6 separate regions of the Homo sapiens genome follow, and regions 2, 3, 4, 5 and 6 are each linked to region 1. The links are contacts of gene promoters, found by promoter capture Hi-C in blood cells and fetal thymus (Javierre and others, 2016). All regions are on one chromosome and are shown on one strand. The core of a region is centred on a gene start or on the middle of the fragment in contact, and the rest is flanking DNA. Distances in the headings are between cores, read along the strand shown. Region 1 holds the start of AGPAT5 (1-acylglycerol-3-phosphate O-acyltransferase 5). Region 2 overlaps TNKS (tankyrase). Region 3 has its middle 5.9 kb from the start of TNKS. Region 4 overlaps ERI1 (exoribonuclease 1). Region 5 holds the start of MFHAS1 (multifunctional ROCO family signaling regulator 1). Region 6 overlaps MFHAS1 (multifunctional ROCO family signaling regulator 1).

Region 1 (2,999 bases), core at 342-2,841:
AGAACTTGCCAAACCAAAAAATCCTTCAATGGTGTATTCTGCATCATATTGTGTCCTCTTTGAACAAAAATAACATAACCCGCCACAGATAGAATTATTTTTTTAAGAGGTGAATGACTTTGTGTTCTGAGCTTATATCCCATCCCAGGCCAGTTGTCACATGATGTGGAAGTAAAAACTTAATCATGATAAAAATCATACATTTAGACAAACTTGGTGGAGTTACCATATAAAGGGAAAAAATTAGCCTGAATTATTGAAATTTTTAAATGAGGCCCATTTTAAACGTCAACTACCAGGAAACCATGACCTGGAACAGTATCTTTTTTTCTTTCCAAGGAGACACTTACAGACACTGGTTTAAATGGAGGCCCTGGCCTCTCCTAGTTCCTTCCCCCCAAACAACTTCCAACTGGGGCCATCAAGGGTCGATCAGCAGTGCAACTGCAAACTAAATATAGTACCTGACTGACCACAGGGTAAAAACAGCTGCTGTAGGTGGAAAAAAAAAAAGTTAAAAAGACAAAATGATACCGTCCCATTTCCCCATGCCACCCTAACCCTACCAAGAAAAGTAAAAGAGGACTAGGTGGACATTAGGAATAACCAAGAATAAAGCTGTTCTTTCAAACTGAGAAATAAAAGAAAAATTCACCTTTTTTTTTTTTTTATAACACTTCAAATACCTACTGTTAAAGAGGGCCTTCCACTTTTATGGTTTGTTTCTCAAGTTTAATCTACGAATCCAATCTCTACAGAGAAACAGTAACAGAAAGAAAGTAATCAGACAACAGATCACCCACACATTCAAGCCCAGTTAAAGTTGGCAAGAAATGTATCTAGTTAGGCTTCTACGGTTAACAAATGTATTCATTTCTTCGCCCAGCTTTCACTTGTCCAGGGGAAAGAACACAAGACCGAATTGTACTTCTGTTTCAAGAGGTCACTGTAAAAGCGCACTTCGGAGTGTAGACGTCTCCGATCTGTTCCAACATGACCACCTCTTTGGACCAAAGGCCAGAAACTGCTAAACGCGTGCCCTATTATTTAAAACGTGCATCTGCACCCACTTTGCTAAGCAGCATCAGACCCAGGCGAGGGGCGGGGAAAGGGGCGGCGGGTCCCACTCGTAGCCTCAGGACGACGCAGCCACAGCTTCCTAGAGAGCGATCTCGGCAGAACGGCAGGAAGCATGCGGAGAGGAAGGCGGGGAGGCGGCACGTGCTCTCCGTGCTGGGTCCGCCGGGCCGGCCGGGTGACCCTCGCCAGCTGTGGGGGAGCGGAGAGGTCCGCGCCCCCGGGAGCTCGGGTGGACGCCGAGACCCGGGAGCGGGAGGCGGCTCACCTGGACCCCGGTGTAATTCTCGAAGAAGAAGAGCACCATGCTCTGGTAGACGCAGTAGAGCCGGTCGTCCAGCGCTTGGTAGAAGCGGGCGGGCAGGAAGGCGGAGAGCAGCCGCCAGACCCCCCAGGCCAACACGTAGGTGGGCGCCGTGCCCAGGAGCACGACGCTGGGCAGCAGGTAGCGCATGGAGTACGTGTGGAGCACCAGGGACAGCAGCATCTTCTCAGCTCGGCGGCAGCGAGCTCCGCCTGCGCTCCCCGCCCGCCTCCCGGGCCTCAGTCGCGGCCAGCAGGCGGCCAATCACCGCCCGGGCCCGGGCCGCCGCGCCCGCCACCCGCTCCCAGCCTCCGCCCCCAGCCGCATGGGCCGCGCCGCCGCCCGGGGCCGGGTAGGCGAGTGCGGGGCTGCGTGCGCCGCTCCCGGCGGCAAAGCAAGGGAACCCGCGGCCCTCCCGGATCGATGGCTCAGGGATGCTCACACCCCATGACCCTCACCCATCGCCACATCCCCCTGCCGGGGCAGGGGGCTCCGCGGCAACAACGCGCCTTCTGATTGGTCGCCCGTTGCCATAGTTCCACCTCGGCGGCAATAACACGTCTCTTGATTGGTTGGTTTGGGCCGACAGTTGCAGTACAGCTACCTGCTGGGGCGCGGGCAACCCGGCTCCGGCCACTGCGCATGCTCCCCAGCTGGGCCGGCTGCGGACGCGGGAAGGGAGGTGGTGGCGACTGACGGAACTGGGTGAAGGTGGGTGCTGGCCGGAGGAGGGTCCGGGTGCCTCTTGTTCTGCTCCCTCGGGCCGGACGTGCGCGCGGTCAGGTTTAAGGGTCGCTGGAGCTGCCTGGAACGCGCACCTGCTGCTCACAAGCCCCTGGGCGCCGGGATGCACACAATTAGAGCAGTGAGAAAGTGGGTGTTAACGTTATCGGAGGTCTAATTCTTGCAGGCACCTGGGCCCAGGTTGTAGGCAGCTCGGCCCAGGTCGCGGGGCAGCTCGAGTGTCCCCATCTGCTCACTGCCAGTCCTTTGCAAGGGGACGCCGCCTCCTCAGCCTCCGCTCTGAGTGCGCAGCAGCCCCTCCTGCCCGTCTCTCGCTACCAGGGTGTTTCAGAATTAGGGTCCGTGTTTTTCCCCATCACAGTAATGATGATAATTACATGTTTATGCATAGCTGAAGAACAATCCCACAAGGATATTTCCATACTGTTTATTAGACCTTTTCAGAATTCACTCTTGCTTCATTTCCTCAGAGTCTGTTGGACTTGTTTCTGATTTTTTTTTAATAAGGAGCCTCGTTTTTTTCTGTAGTAATTAAAGTAGTTGCGTGCACATGTGTAATCCATAAAAAGCATACTTTTGTAGCCTTCACTAAAAGCTACGAAGGGTGGATAACTGTTTTATTGATGTTAAAGCAGATCCACAGGACTTTTGGATCTTTCTCCTCCCCTTTGGCTGTGGTAAAAATGGTTTAATATGTAACCCTTTTCAAGGATAGTTGTACTTTAAAAGAATGCCGAATGCTTTACCATATATATATATATATATATATATATATATATATATATATTCCCGCCCCCTCCCCACCACCACCATAATGGGAGCCTGTGCTACCTTTAGGCAGGACGGTATTTCAGTGGGAAGTTCTAATCAGGGC
Region 2 (2,999 bases), core at 317-2,816, 2.9 Mb before region 1:
TAAATGTGGTAAAATACACATAATATAAAATTTGCCATCATAACCATTTTTAAATGTAGAGTTCAGTGGCATTACATACTTTCAAACTGCTGTGACTCCAATATGTTTCAGTTACTGTTCAAAAAATTTTTAACTTCTTCTTCCATGAGTCAAAACATACAGCAAAATTTATCTACGAGATTTTCTAACAACTCTATATAGTCTTTTAAAGAAAGTCGTTGCTGGAAGGGTGCGGTGGCTCAGGCCTGTAATCCCACCACTTTGGGAGGCCAAGGCGGGCAGATCACAAGATCAGGAGAACGAGACCATCCTCGCTAACACGGTGAAACCCCGTCTCTACTAAAAATACAAAAAAAATTAGCCGGGCGTGGTGGCGGGCGCCTGTAGTCCCAGCTACTCGGGAGGCTGAGGCAGGAGAATGGCGTGAACCCGGGAGGCAGAGCTTGCAGTGAGCCAAGATCGCGCCACTGCGCTCCAGCCTGGGCGACAGAGCGAGACTCCGTCTCAAAAAAAAAATAAATAAATAAGAAAGCAGTTGCTAAAATATCCTTCCTTCTTCCATTTAGTTATGAGGTTCTTCAAAGATTACTTCCAATCACACTTTTTATGTTTATAAAAACAATCAACTGAACAAAAGACCAGATAGTCCCAACATTCTAGTAACTGCAAATGTTCCAATACCATACTTACAAAAAAGTTTTACTTTAAATGCCTAAGAGAAGGACTGGAGGGAATATGTCAAAATCACTAGTAGCTCCCTTGGGGTGGGAAGATGATGCCCTACTTTTTACTGTACTTTCCAAAATTTGTAAAGTTACGTTTATTACCAGAAAACCAACTTGAGAAAGCAGTAAGAATCGTCAGATTACAAAATGACACAAAATACAGATTTTATTTCTCATTGCTATCAACTTTCCATTTGAGTAGCACAGACCAAATGATTTTACGACAACCAGATTGGGTTTAAATCTGGCACCATTACTTAAAAGCTAGCTATGTGACCTTGGACTCTGATGACAAAAGACTGGGCTAGGCCGGGCGCGGTGGCTCACGCCTGTAATCCCAGCACTTTGGGAGGCCGAGGCGGGTGGATCATGAGGGCAGGAGATCGAGACCATCCTGGCTAACAAGGTGAAACCCCGTCTCTACTAAAAATACAAAAAATTAGCCGGGCGCGGTGGCGGGCGCCTGTAGTCCCAGCTACTCGGGAGGCTGAGGCAGGAGAATGGCGTGAACCCGGGAGGCGGAGCTTGCAGTGAGCCGAGATTGCGCCACTGCAGTCCGCAGTCCGGCCTGGGCGACAGAGCGAGACTCCGTCTCAAAAAAAAAAAAAAAAAAAAAAAAAAGACTGGGCTAATATACGAGGATTAATATTTATGTACTTAAGAATGTCAGAAGATCAGAAATCAGAAGTGTTAACTCAAAAAGTTTACTTGTTCAAATACTTACAGAGCACTAAAACAAGCAATTCATTGAATTAAATAATGAAATTATCTTATTATATACCCCATATTTATCTGCTTTCATAAATTAACATAGGATAACAGTTATATTTTTCTGTTGTTAAGTCTGTGTATTTTGGGGCTGGGGAGAAGGAGGAGGCAGACAACTTTTGATAGCTTGCTCAAAGTTTCAAAAATTTATCCAAAAAGTTTTCTTTTTCCAAATAAGAATATTTTCCTGCAAAGAAGAAAAACATAAGTTGGTACCTCAAGACATTAGAAAAAAATAGCTAAGATGTATTAACTAAGTGTAATTCTATGTCATTTCTTTTGAAAATACCAAATTTCCACAGTCAACATGAGAATAACCCAAGCATTTGGAAGAGGAGACCTGCACATCTTATTAACATGACTGATGAGAATGTCAAAATGGTTTCTACGGTTGATGAGTATTATCAGAATGAGGGCATCAGAACTTTTCAATGTCTACTTACTATGTATATAATATATATGTCAACATATAATTTGACATATATAATAAGTTATATACATGTAGACACAAAAAAGTGTGTATACACACACTTTAACAAGGCATCAGGGAGTTTAGTTTATTTTTATTTTTATTTATTTTTATTTTTTTTGAGACGGAGTCTTGCTCTGTCACCCAGGCTGGAGTGCAGTGGCGTGATCTCGGCTCACTGCAAGCTCTGCCTCCGGGGTTCACGCCATTCTCCTGCCTCAGCCTCCCGAGTAGCTGGGACAACAGGCGCCCGCCACCACGCCAGGCTAATTTTGTGTGTGTGTATTTTTAGTAGAGACGGGGTTTCACTGTGCTAGCCAGGATGGCCTCCATCTCCTGACCTTGTGATCCGCCCTCCCAAAGTGCTGGGATTACAGGCGTGAGCCACCACGCCTGGCTGGTTTAGTTTATTTTTGAACTAATGACACAGAGACTATAGCTTTAAGGTTTTTTGAGTCAATCAGTAAATTTAAAACAAATTTTGTTCAGTTTGGACTTGTAGTTCATGGAAATCATCTGCTAACTACCAAATGCTTCCTCACTTTAAAAGAAAATATACCAAAGAAGAAAAAATAAACAAGTCCAAACATCTGCCACCTACCAGCAGTTTAGTTTGTTCTACTGAAAAGGCAAAAGGGATAGAGAAAAAATTTTACATCACGTTATTTTCCCTCTTCCAAAACCAAAATAAATAAATAAATAAATAACTTGTCTAAATTGAATGGGGAGCTGACACACTCCAAAAAACAGCTTAAAAAAAAGTTTACCCTCACGCTGCTTTAATTCTATAAACAGATACCTGAACAAACTGGCAAAACAAGATTCGAGAAGAGAACTCAGTAACTCGCTCTGGTGAAAGCAAACTTAGACATCTGATGAAGCCTTAAAAGAAAAACAACGGGCACACAAAAACAAAACACCTAAAACTTTCCTCAATTACTTGAAATCAAAGTGATTTTTTTTTTTTAATGAGCCCCGGGGTTATCCTGAGCTCCTAGGCTTTAGTAGAAATCCCTAGGAAACCCACCCTACTCATT
Region 3 (2,999 bases), core at 278-2,777, 2.8 Mb before region 1:
AATGCATGGATATGGAAGGGTATAACTAGCCAACAACGCATATATAATGATGTAATGGCTTATGCAGATGGATATAGCTAACCAGAATAGAGCTGATGCAACTGCAAACCAAGAGACTGCAAGGCACCCAGAGGACTCACCCTCCCCAATCAGAACATGGGGACAACCCACCAAGCCATGATGAATGTGGATTCCCGCCACTGCTTGAGGGGTCGTGACTACCACATACTGACCGTGAGGTGACTCCAACCAATGGCAAAGATTGGGGCAAAGACATCTGCCAGCAGAGACCATCAGAAATACCGGCTGAGAATGAGTGGCAGCCCAGGCAGTGAGAGGCATTAATCAATCCCCAAACATGTGGTATGTGCCTTCCACCCACTATCTCCTTTTACTTGCTTGCTGTTGTTACTTGGCTTGTTGAAAGAAGGAAATGAATGAAAGCTGTTTAAGTGGTGTATGTGTGTAACTTCTCTTGGTATTACCTATTCCTCCATATCCTGAACCTAGGTCTTTTGATGCTGAGTTGCTCAGAAAAAAATACTGTACAATCCAGGATAAGTCATTTAACCTCTGGTATGGTTTGGCTGTGTCCCCACTCAAATCTCATCTTGAATTATAGTTCCCCAGTCCCCACATGTCATGGGAGGGACCTCGTAGAAGGTAATTTAGTCATGGGGATGGTTACCCTCATGCTGTTCTCATGATAATGAGTGCGTTCTCATGAGATCTGATGGTTTTATAAGGGGCGTTTCCCCATTTTGCTCTGCATTTCTCCTTGCTGCCACCATGTGAAGAAGGACATGTTTGCTTCCCCTTCTGCCATCATTGTAGGTTTCCTGAGGCCTCCCCAGCCCTGTGGAACGGTGAGTCAATTAAACCTCTTTCCTTTATACATTACCCAGTCTCTGGTATGTCCGTGTAGCAGTGTGAGAACAAACTAACACAACCTCTTTGTAAACTCACCTGCAAAGTAGAGACACGAAGTAGAGACATTAATAGTTGTTCTGAGAAATTAGTAAGTTAATATATGCCAAGTGCAATAAACAGTTTCTGGCATGTGATAAATGGAATGTAAGTGTCAGCTTTTATTGTTATCAAGAACAGGGATGGGATATACTTTGTATAAAGGTCACCTAAGAGACACTAGTCTTGTCTGCCCAACAACAAGCAGGTCTCCTTTTACTCAATATTGTTGTTATTTGGCTTCCCATGCATGCTGCTGCTTTTGCTTTACAGTGTCTTAAAGGAAGGTCTAATAAGCTTGGAAATGAAAAGGGACTCTTATATTAAGGGAAATGCAAATAGTCCCTTCTGGCTGTGGTCAGGATTTAGGAGAGATAGAAACTCTACAAAGGAAGGCACCTCAGCCTGAGGTAGGCAGGTTTCTCTCAAACATATTCCTCCCTGCAGTGCTGAGAAACCATCTCTGTTGTGTGGAAAACCACCACAGCTGCCAAGACCACCTCAAGAGAAACCAACACAGCCATAATTCCTGAAGTCAGTGTGGTCCAGGATGTTTGCAGAAGGAACATCCCACAGAAGATGAATTTACAACCTTGAATCACCACACATGAGAGAGGGCCAACAACATGAGAGAAAAAACAGAAAACCTAAAAAAATCAAAGACTACAGATAATACAGCAATCTACAATGTATTTTTATATCCACATTTAAGGTGGGCAGAATAATGGCACCTCAAAGATACTCAAGTCCAAATCTCTGGAAGCTGCAGATATGTTACTTTATGTGGCAAAGTGGAATGAACATCGAAGATGGAATTTAAGCTTGCTAATCAACAGACTTTAGAACAGGGAGACTTTCCTGGATTATGTGAGTGGGCCTAATGTAATCATCAGCATCCTTATAGGTACAAAAGGGAGACACAGAAGGAGGTTGAAAGTAATACCATGTGAAGACTCAACCAGTCAGTGCTGGCTTTGAAGGTGATGGAAGAATCCACAAGCCAAGGAATGTGAGCAGTCTCTGGAAGTTGCAAAAGAAAAGGAAACAGATTCTTCCCTAGAGCCCCCAGAAAATAACTCAATCCTGCTAACACCTTGATTTTAGCCCAATGGTACCAATGCCAGATTTATGACTGCAGAACTGTAAAATATATTTGTGTTAAGCTACTATGTTTGTGATAATTTGTTACAGCAGCAAAAGAAAACTAATACATGCCCTCTTTGGAAAATCAGGTGATATGAAGCCATCAGCCTATTTTTATACAGGACAATAGACTGAAGTGGCATAGTTTCTGCCACTTGGTATTACCAGAGGGCAATTATTCTCCATCGTTCCTTTTGTTCATGTACATCTTTCTGGCTTTACTCAGTTAAGAGGCTGGGTATACTAGTCCCCTATAGCTGCTATAACAAATGACCACAGACTTAGTGCCTTGAAACGGTACAATACAAATGTATTCTCCTACGGTTCTGGGGCAGAAGTTTGGAATCAGTTTCACTGGGCTAAAGTCAAGGCATCGGCAATGTTGGCATCTTATGAGGACTTTGGGGAGAATTTTCTTCTGAGAGCTTTGAGGGGAGAATCTCTTTCCTTGACTTTTTCAGCTTCTAGTGGCTGCCTGTAGTCTTTGGCTTGTGACCTTTTCCTACGTCCTAAAAGCACATCACTCATCTCTGGTTCCATCCCATCATCTTCTGTTTGACTCTCCCTACTCCTACTGCACTCTTAAAAGGACCATTGTGGTCAGGCGTGGTGGGCCCACGCCTGTAATCCCAGCACTGTGAGAGGCCAAGGTGAGAGCATCACTTGAGCCCAGGAGTTTGAGACCAGCCTGGGCAACATGGCGAAATCCTGTGTCCTGAAAAATACAAAAATTAGCCAGGCATGGTGGTGCACCCCTGCAGTTCCAGCTACTTGGGAGGCTGACATGGGAGGATCACCTGAGCCTGGGGAAGTAGATGCTGCAGTGAGCCAAGATCACGCAGCTGGACTCCAGCCTGGGCGACAGAGTGAGACCCTGTCTCCAAAAATGA
Region 4 (2,999 bases), core at 373-2,872, 2.3 Mb before region 1:
TAGAATTCAATACAGGCTTGTTGAATAAACGTATAAACATACATCTAGATCGCTAGCTCCCACGCAAGCCAGGAGTAAGCAACTGATCTTCACACCTGGGAAGGACAAAAATTTTGCTCGGAAAATCTTCTGTAGGCTACAAGTTGTACCTTCATAACAGAAAGAATCGGGGAAATAGGAGTCAAAAATTTCTTCATACATTATGATGTAGACAATCTAGAAATTAATAAATTTGTGCTCTTTTGAAGAGTGGTGAAACTCTAAAGAGGAAGAATACTACTATTAAGAGAATTATGATTCAGAGATGTCTTGAAAAAGGAAGAGTTTTTACCTATTTCATACAGGCAATTTTTTTTCTTGATGCCTGGCAGTTCTACCGTTTATCAAAAATCGATGTATTTTTCTGGACTCCAAAAGCCATTTCTGCCCCATGGCCCAATGAACGTAAAGTGATTTGTTTCGCAAAAAATTACTAAAAACTTAGGTATGTGTATATCTCATTAAAATACACATACAGTTGACTAAGTTGCATTGTTTTCTCACTCAATATACAGTGAAACATAATGCAAACGATCATTGTAGATTATTTTTTAGAAATTAAAACAAAAAATATTCCTGTTAAGTGAATGTTTTTAATTTATTGTACCTGATTTCAAACAAACTCTTTTTATAAAAGATACAAATGGCAAAAAGAAAATAAAAAATACTCTATCTCACTAATATAACTATCCATCATTTAAATGAGCAACTAAAAAAATTTAAAACACTCTTGTCATAATAAGACAGAGACTCCTATACATTGCCGGTAGGTCATTAAAATATTTGACTTTGATTCAGCAGTCCTATCATCTAGAAGACAGACAAAAATAATCAGAGTTGCACATAAAAAATGTTAATTAGTTTTTGTGAACTGTTAATAGGATCATGTCATTACGGTAGGATTACAGATGATTTTTAATATTTCAATGTTTTCAAGATTTTCTAAAATGAGCATGTACTACTTTTATAATTTTATAAGTTATTTTTAATTACCTAGTTTCAAGCTTGAATTCTGAAAGCTTAGCTCTGAGTTCTTCCTTACTCATTCTATTAATACAGCCATTCGTAATGGCAATCTCTTTGTAAACCGGGTCACTGAAGTCACTCGCACTGGAGGTAATGAACTTGGATCCTTTTGTCTCCTGGCCATCAAATTTACACTGTTGAGTTTCCTACCAAAAAAAAAAAAAAAAAAAAAAAAAAAAAGGATGTAGTTTATAATTAGTACAAACATCACAGATTTAAAGATTCAAACTTTCAAACTTCTGAAGCCTCTTCATGCTACATGTTCAATGAAAAGTGTTCACTGCAGCTCCTAAACGGAGGAAAGGATAAGAAGGAAGATGCGTCTCCAATACAATTTACCCCACTCTATTATGAGTCATGAGGTTCCTCAAAGGAAACAAAGCTAAGTAAAAAGAAGACTGGTGGTGGGAGTCAACACCACCTCAATAGAGAACCCCAGCTGACTATTTACTAGAAATAGCAGCATGACTTTGGATAGCTACGTATTAGCCTCTGATCCTCAATTTCCTTATCTATAAAATGGTAATTTGGTAATGGTAAATAGTGTTTGGGCAGAATTATTACAAAGATTAAATGAGATTATGTGTATCAGACCCCTACACCCACAGTAGCTATTAATAAATGGTAACTATTAATATCACAGGCTATACAACAAGCCCTTCACAAACAATATGCTAATATTTACAAATGAACCCATTTTTAAATGAACTTTTACATTATACATGTGTAATAACTTCTGATAATTTTTTAACCTGACTTCATTTCACAAAGTTAACAAAAATTGCCCAACATAAAAACAAAATGGACCGCAAATCTAATTTACAGCTTCCTAGTACTCAAAGAAGGAAATGTATTTAATTTCAAAACTTACATTTTCCAAAAGTTGTACTTAGGTCCACTAACCAGAAGAACTATAGAATTATGAATTTTTTCATAAATAAAAATCTGTTAAGAAAAAACATGACTCAATTCTATTTTCTCCACAGGCAGTCTCAAATTACTAATATGTTAAGTTCCAAAGATTCATTTGTAAGTTATTTTCCACATGCAATATCACAAATATTAGCTATGTTCCATAATTTTGAAAAATATTTAGTACTAATTATCCCTATTAAAGCTTGTTACCTTAGTTATAATGTACCACATTGTCCTCACGTAAACTGTAATTATAGATCAAGGAAGGATAATCACAGAGAGGCCACAGTCCCTAACTCAGAACTGATCCTGATGGTTCAGGAACCATTTCTTACTCTAAGCTCTCAATTTAATGCAACACACATTTACTGGAAATGTAATGCTAGGTAAGGTGCCAGAGTACTCAAGAGTGACTCACCCATTTCCTTTGAGGAAGAGGTCAGCAGTTCCAATGTGTGAACTGTCCATAAATTAAAGAACAGCCACACTGAGGTTCCTTGTTAACAATGTTAAGGAAAAAAAAAGTATTGCTAGTTGACCAATGATTCACTTTCAACAATATATTAGATTTACAATAGATATTGCTCTGCTTGACCAGAATTTTACAAAAAATTATCTTTTGACTTTAAATTTACATTGAATTTGAAACTTCATCTTTAGTCATCATTTAGTAAATTTCAGGTTAAAATTTAGGTCAACATTAAGTAACAGTTTGTCTACCAAAACAGATGTCTCAGTTAATTTAAGCAGATTTTCTCTTTGGATAAATCCTCTTTCTGATTCACTGGTTAATTCTCATCCTAAACTGTAGCTAGAAAAATTATTCACAAGTAACACTTAGGCCTCTTCTATAGATGCTATAAATTATGACTTCCATAAAGAAAAATTTGCTTCCTTTCCTAGGTCCAGCTCTAGTTCTCTTCCTTCAGTGAAGTTCTAGAGACAGCCGAGGTCCAATCCTCAGAAAGCAGTGTCTCCTCCCAAATTTCAAATCTACACTAATGGTTCACAAAGAAGGA
Region 5 (2,999 bases), core at 362-2,861, 2.2 Mb before region 1:
GCCTGATAACCATCACTGGGGTGGATTTCCAGCCTCAGATGTTCAGGTGCTCTTTTTGGAAACACACACTTCTCACGTTACTGCACCAAATATGGGTCCCCAAATGACAGCCATAGCGCATGTCGGGGAGAGCTGCAGTGGGTCAAGTGATGCCTTTAACCAACTGAACGCAGTTTTCGGTCCCTGAAAACTATTTGCTTCCTTATCAATCAACCTGAAGGGAATGATGGAGGTGACACTGGGAGTCTTGGTAGGTTTCCAGACTTTCATAAGTTCGGGAGAAATTATTGACTTAGCATAGATGTGAGCTCAAAGAAACATTTCCTAACAGCAATAAAAATAAGCATTAGAGTTGAACAATGGACTGTGACTGTTTCCCAAAATAGCTGTTTTCTTGAGTCCGCAGAACAACAGGTACTGTATTAATGGGGATACAGTATTTGTTTCACAGCGTTGTTGTGAAGATAAACGGGATACCCCAGATAAACAGCTTGTGTCCCCCCCATCTTAACAACCCTCCTTTAGGCTGGCGGGCCACCTGCTCAAAAGCCTTCCCCAGGGGGGTTAAAACCGTCTTTTAGTAGTTCTGGTACGGGTGGGCTGGGGGAGATCCTCTAAAGCCAGTGCGACCTTGACCCCAGCCAATGTCCAGGCTCTTGACACATCCAGAGAATGAGTTCAAGGACAACTCAGAAAATAGTGACAATATGCAGATTTATTGCAAAGGGAAAAGTACACACCCAGGAAAAGGGATTGTGGAGAGGGTCACTCACAACGGGGCTTGGGGCTGCTACCTTTATGGGTTTCTTTAACCAAGGGGTGAAATATTCATGAAAATTCCTGGAAAAGTGTGGAGATTTTTCGGGACTGTGGTGCCACCCATTTTTACTTCAAATATGGGTGTCCCCGGAATTGTCATGGCACTGGTGTGACTTAGGATGTTAAAGAGCGTATAATGGAGGCCTAGGAGAAACCTAGGTCAAATCCAGGACCACGTCGGGTCCAGCCGGTCTTAGCCAGCTTGGTACACACCCTGGTTTTCAGGGTCTTATCAGCCCATAGCCTCCAGTCAAGTGAAACTGCTGCCTGGTATTTTTTATTCTCCTCTGACCAGCCTGCATTACTCCTGTCCCATGTTCAACACGAAATAGGGCCTCAGGAAATATTTACCAAATGAATGAATGGTTGCCTGTTCTAATTTTGTTTAACCACACTCTTGTCCTAAGCTTCTATGATGATACCCAGGGCCCCCGAGTTGTGCCAGTTCCACTACGGCGTGGATGCAAGGCGAGCGGCAGGGGAGCAGGTAAAGGATGAGTAAGGGAAGCCGGCGGATCCGACGCATTAGAGAACAAGAAAAAGAAATCCTTAGAGACTGGGGGCCAACAAAGAGCCAGGCGCGGGCGAACCCACCAGGGGGGCCCCGGAGCCCCACATCCGCCGCTGGGACGACCTCCCCGCCCAGCATGGTCCGGGGCGCGGACCCGGCCCCGCGCCAGGCGCCCCCGGCCCCGCACCCGGCGCCCTCCGCAGCTCCCGCCCCCGGGGCGGTGCCGGGAAAACGCGGCGCCTCCGCCGGTCACGTGGGGGCCGCTCCGGCGGGCGGCGCTGCCGCTTCCCAATCGCGCCCTCCCAGCGCCGGGGACGCGGCGCCCGCGCTCCCGCCCGAGCCCGGGGAAACGGAGACAAGGAGGCGCCGCCGCCCCCTCCCCGCGGCTGCGCCCCAGCCCTGCGCCCGCAGCATGCCCGCCGCCGGGCCGAGCGCCGCCCTCCCCCAGGAGCTCGAGGAGGCGACGCCGCTGCCGGCCGCGGGACCGCGGCTGCGAGGGTAGCGGGGCCGGAGCCGGGCCCCCCGAGGCGCCGCGCGGCGGGCGGAGAGGGAGGAGGAGCAGGCATCCTCCGCGGCGCGCGGGCGGCGGCCCTGCTGCCCGGCGCGCCCATGGCCCGGCCGCAGGGAGAATGCAAGCTGCTCTCCACGCGCTCGGCGTCCCCCGGAGCCGCTCGCGTCGCCGCCGCCCCCTAGCCGCCAGCGCTCGGCCGCTGGCTGCGCTAGGACCCGCGGCCGCCGGCCGCCGAGCGCGGGAGGGCAGGCAGGGGCAGGAGCCGGAGGGCCCGGGGCGCGGCGCGGCATGTAGCTGCGGGCTCCCGCGTCCGCGTGAGGCTGTCGGCCCGGGGCCCCGCCATGGCTGGGATGGACAGTGGCAACCTGAAGACCGCGAGGCTGTGGCGGGACGCCGCCCTGCGTGCCAGGAAGCTGCGGAGCAACCTGCGCCAGCTCACGCTTACCGCCGCCGGGGCCTGCCCCGGGGCCGGGGCCGACGCGCTCGAGTCCCCCGCCTCCCCCCAGCTCGTGCTGCCGGCCAACCTCGGGGACATTGAGGCACTGAACCTGGGGAACAACGGCCTGGAGGAGGTACCCGAGGGGCTGGGGTCGGCGCTGGGCAGCCTGCGCGTCCTGGTCCTGCGCAGGAACCGCTTCGCCCGGCTGCCCCCGGCGGTGGCCGAGCTCGGCCACCACCTCACCGAGCTGGACGTGAGCCACAACCGGCTGACCGCCCTGGGCGCGGAGGTGGTGAGTGCTCTGAGGGAGCTGCGGAAGCTCAACCTCAGCCACAACCAGCTGCCCGCCCTGCCCGCCCAGCTGGGCGCTCTCGCTCACCTGGAGGAGCTGGATGTCAGCTTTAACCGGCTGGCGCACCTGCCTGACTCCCTCTCCTGCCTCTCCCGCCTGCGCACCCTGGACGTGGATCACAACCAGCTCACTGCCTTCCCCCGGCAGCTGCTGCAGCTGGTGGCCCTGGAGGAGCTGGACGTGTCCAGCAACCGGCTGCGGGGCCTGCCTGAGGATATCAGTGCCCTGCGTGCCCTCAAGATCCTCTGGCTGAGTGGGGCCGAGCTTGGCACGCTGCCCGCCGGCTTCTGCGAGCTGGCCAGTTTGGAGAGCCTCATGCTAGACAACAACGGGCTGCAGGCTCTGCCCGCCCAGTTCAGCTGCCTGC
Region 6 (2,999 bases), core at 1-2,500, 2.2 Mb before region 1:
TGTGTGTGTGTGTGTGTGTGTGTGTAGAATGTTATAGTATATCCTACAAATATAGCATAGTAGTCTACCAATGGATGTATTGTTCAGTCACACCTATACCGGCAGACCTTTGATCCTTTCCAGATTGTTAAACTAAGTACGTTCTCCACCTTCCAGAGGTGTAAGAAATACTCAGTTTTATTTCCTTCAGGGTTAATAATCCCTCTCTGTGCTCGGAACACTCTTGAGATGCAATTAGAAAAAGACAAATCTCTAAATCAAAGTGGTGGGACCTAAAAAAAGCCTCGAGGGTTATGAAGGCTTCGCTTTGTGATTTGAAACAAGGTAATTTTTTTAAATTGGCTTTGGTGATGTGTATTGGAACACCATTGTTTTCAGCATAATTACGCATTTCACAGCTTAATTCAGCCATTACACGTGATGCAGTGTTTAGACATAGCAATAATTACAAATTGTACATGTTTACAGATAGATATACCGCTGATCAAAATAAAACAGTGGCAGCAAGAATGATGTTCTGTCCATGTAAGAAATCAATGAAATATAATTAAGAACGAACTGTATCTCATTGACTCAAAACATTGCATCTGCCTTTCTGTCCCATCTGTTTTCTAAACAAAAATCTTCCCGCGCTGCGTGGTTGTTTTTATTTGTATCCTAGAACCATCCTCTCGAGTTCCACACCGTTGTATTTTCTACACCTAAGCTTGGTGTGTTCTGCACAGGAAATGTTTCTTGGATGTTTTATCCTCATACCAAGTGGGAATTTAAAATTTAAGAGATTACCCACACTCTTTGCCTTTCTGTACATGTGATGAAGAAAGAGTGGGTGTAACCCAGCACTCTAAAATGTGTTTGACCTGTAAAAAAAAAAAAAAAAAGTAAGCAATTAAATCCTGTTATAGTTGCTTCTGTGTTTAAAACATACTTAATGACGTATATATTTATTTCAAGCTAACAAAGTCCCCAGTCAGGTTCTTGGGAGTTTTTTTCACAGGACTCATTGAAGTGTTTGGTCTTTAAAATCCTTCATTTCATGCTAACTGCCAAGTCAATGCAGACAGTATGGCCGAACAGAGCTGGTCACATTTTCCCTGAACATGCTATTAAAAAATATATTCACTGGGATTCTCTTGACTCATGGCATAGCTGAGGTGACTTTGATTCCGGAGGGCTATTGCTTATGAATTGCATGTGGAAGAACTAAAAATAGAAATGTGAATTTTCCAAAAGAACACTATGATACCAAAAATGGCTCACTGGCTTGCCTAGAGCTGGGCTGTTTTGTGCCCAAGGTACAGTAATAAGAACTGGGATGCAAAGCCCTGTAGGGTGCATCTGTCCCCTTCCCTGACACCCCTCACTCCCAGATGGCTCACGAGTGGCACTGCCCGGTTGTCTCCGTCTCACTCTTGCACGATGTTCTGCTGCCTGTCTGGGATGGAGCAGGTGTTCTTTTGAATGTATTTGTTAAGCCTCTGAAATATATGCATTTCCCCCTCCCCAAGAAAAACACACATGTGCATGCTCTGTGCTTTTCCCTGGTTACTGTATTGTTCCCATCTTTTTTTTTATTTTTATTTTTTCCCTTGGAATAGGGAATATCCACTCATTTTCTATTTAGTCCCTTCAGGAATTTGCCTTAGGGGCTGTTGGGCCAGGCCTCACTGCAGCCAGCCAGAGCTTATCAGCTGTGTGTTAACCTCTCCCAGACACTTCTTGAATGCTGTTCATGCATCCGAGCCTATGCATCTGAGCCTCCTCTGTGTAATGTGGTGCGGCATTAAAAGCTTACCCAAATAGCAGGGATGATTGCATCTTGTTGATTACCAGGGCTGATAACATTTTCTTGCTTAGCTAAAAAGAAAAGCCAGATGACTGTTTCCAGGAAGTGATAAACTGCCATGCATCCGGCCCCAGGTGGTCCGCATGAAGGAAGCTGCAAGGTTGGAATCCTCCTGCCGTCCCCTTTTACAGTTCATAAATCTTCTGATTTATGGGGCCATTTGTGATTGCAGACACATTTATTCATGGGGGGATTTCCATCGAGATCATAACCCACTGTAAAGCAGGAGGAAGAATCAGGAATTAGAACGGTGTACATTCCTCTTTGTTAGAAAAGAATCCCGATTCTTTGGTCATAGACAAATATTTGCTTTTGAAGAATCTGGTGGTGTGTCGCTGGCTTTGTTCATATCCGTGCACAGTCACATGCTCCCTTGCCTCCCATGGACCCAGAAGCTTATGTTACACAGATCGTTTTATAATGCTTGCCATCCGGGCATGTTTATGCAAAGTGTGAATAACTTTTTGCCTTAGCCTCCTCTTCCTTCCTTCTCCCTCCTTTGATTTAGCTCATTTCTGGAATGGGGCAGATTTTCATCTCAGGGAGTTGATACGGTTTCCTAGGTAGGGTGACAGAACAAGTGTCACCTTAGCTGTAGCTAGAGATGAATATTGCCATGCAGCTTACTTGCTTTATATTAAACCAGCATTAGAGAAAGAGGCCTTGCATCTTTTATCAGCAGTATGTTAACCTCTCCCAGGCACTTCTTGAATGCCATTCATACATCTGAGCCCATGCATCTGAGCCTTGGATGTAATTAAATCAGTGGATTAGGAAGTCGGGGGCCTGGACCTCTGGGAAGCCACTTGGCCTCCCTGGGCCTCAATTTCGTCTGTAAATAGGTAAAAATAATTCTAACAGTTCCCAAGCATTTACACCTGCTATCAGAGTCTCCTTAGATGTTGTGAGGGGGAAATGAATGAATAGATGTCAAGTCCCCAAGTAGTTTTTTCTTTGTTTGCGTGTTTGTGATCACTCTGTTGCCCAGGCTGGAGTGCAGTGGAGTGATCTTGGCTCACTGCAACCTCCACCTCCCTGGTTCAAATGATTCTTGTGCCTCATTGTCATGAGTAGCAGGGATTACAGGCATGTGCCACCATGCCCAGCTAATTTTTGTATTTTTAGTAGAAACTGGGTTTCACCAAGTTGGCGA

What was found. The method cuts DNA at HindIII sites, captures the fragments that hold promoters and counts their contacts. A CHiCAGO score of 5 or more calls a contact.
Region 2: a fragment that was not itself captured here is called in contact with the fragment with the promoter of AGPAT5 in region 1 in 1 of 17 cell types (activated CD4 T cells); the score reaches 8.6 in activated CD4 T cells.
Region 3: a fragment that was not itself captured here is called in contact with the fragment with the promoter of AGPAT5 in region 1 in 2 of 17 cell types (total CD8 T cells and total CD4 T cells); the score reaches 6.5 in total CD8 T cells.
Region 4: a contact is called between a fragment that was not itself captured here and the fragment with the promoter of AGPAT5 in region 1, in 1 of 17 cell types (erythroblasts). The highest score is 7.0, in erythroblasts.
Region 5: a contact is called between the fragment with the promoter of MFHAS1 here and the fragment with the promoter of AGPAT5 in region 1, in 1 of 17 cell types (fetal thymus). The highest score is 8.7, in fetal thymus.
Region 6: a fragment that was not itself captured here is called in contact with the fragment with the promoter of AGPAT5 in region 1 in 1 of 17 cell types (fetal thymus); the score reaches 5.7 in fetal thymus.

The regions. Positions count from the first base shown.
Region 1 is chr8:6,707,234-6,710,232 of GRCh38, reverse strand. AGPAT5 (1-acylglycerol-3-phosphate O-acyltransferase 5) reads right to left here and starts at 1,591. Exons shown (of 8, transcript NM_018361.5): 1 at 1,346-1,591. The coding sequence starts at 1,564. MCPH1-AS1 (MCPH1 antisense RNA 1) reads left to right here and starts at 2,024. Exons shown (of 5, transcript NR_125386.1): 1 at 2,024-2,092. RefSeq lists silencers at 1,198-1,437, 1,498-1,837. The HindIII fragment of the contact is 5,238 bases long and covers 1-2,999 here.
Region 2 is chr8:9,564,941-9,567,939 of GRCh38, reverse strand. All of the region lies in intron 1 of TNKS (tankyrase), which reads right to left. Among named protein-coding and RNA genes, the nearest start is that of TNKS, 11 kb to the right of the region's middle. The HindIII fragment of the contact is 3,966 bases long and covers 1-2,999 here.
Region 3 is chr8:9,548,479-9,551,477 of GRCh38, reverse strand. No RefSeq gene overlaps it. Among named protein-coding and RNA genes, the nearest start is that of TNKS, 5.9 kb to the left of the region's middle. The HindIII fragment of the contact is 524 bases long and covers 1,266-1,789 here.
Region 4 is chr8:9,006,182-9,009,180 of GRCh38, reverse strand. It overlaps ERI1 (exoribonuclease 1), which reads right to left. Exons shown (of 7, transcript NM_153332.4): 2 at 1,033-1,211. Among named protein-coding and RNA genes, the nearest start is that of ERI1, 4.8 kb to the right of the region's middle. The HindIII fragment of the contact is 1,124 bases long and covers 1,061-2,184 here.
Region 5 is chr8:8,892,242-8,895,240 of GRCh38, reverse strand. MFHAS1 (multifunctional ROCO family signaling regulator 1) reads left to right here and starts at 1,611. Exons shown (of 3, transcript NM_004225.3): 1 at 1,611-2,999. The coding sequence starts at 2,183. RefSeq lists silencers at 1,466-1,715, 1,726-2,005, 2,116-2,385 and an enhancer at 2,230-2,999. The HindIII fragment of the contact is 4,068 bases long and covers 1,229-2,999 here.
Region 6 is chr8:8,871,358-8,874,356 of GRCh38, reverse strand. The region is part of intron 1 of MFHAS1 (multifunctional ROCO family signaling regulator 1); the gene reads left to right. Among named protein-coding and RNA genes, the nearest start is that of MFHAS1, 21 kb to the left of the region's middle. The HindIII fragment of the contact is 1,084 bases long and covers 709-1,792 here.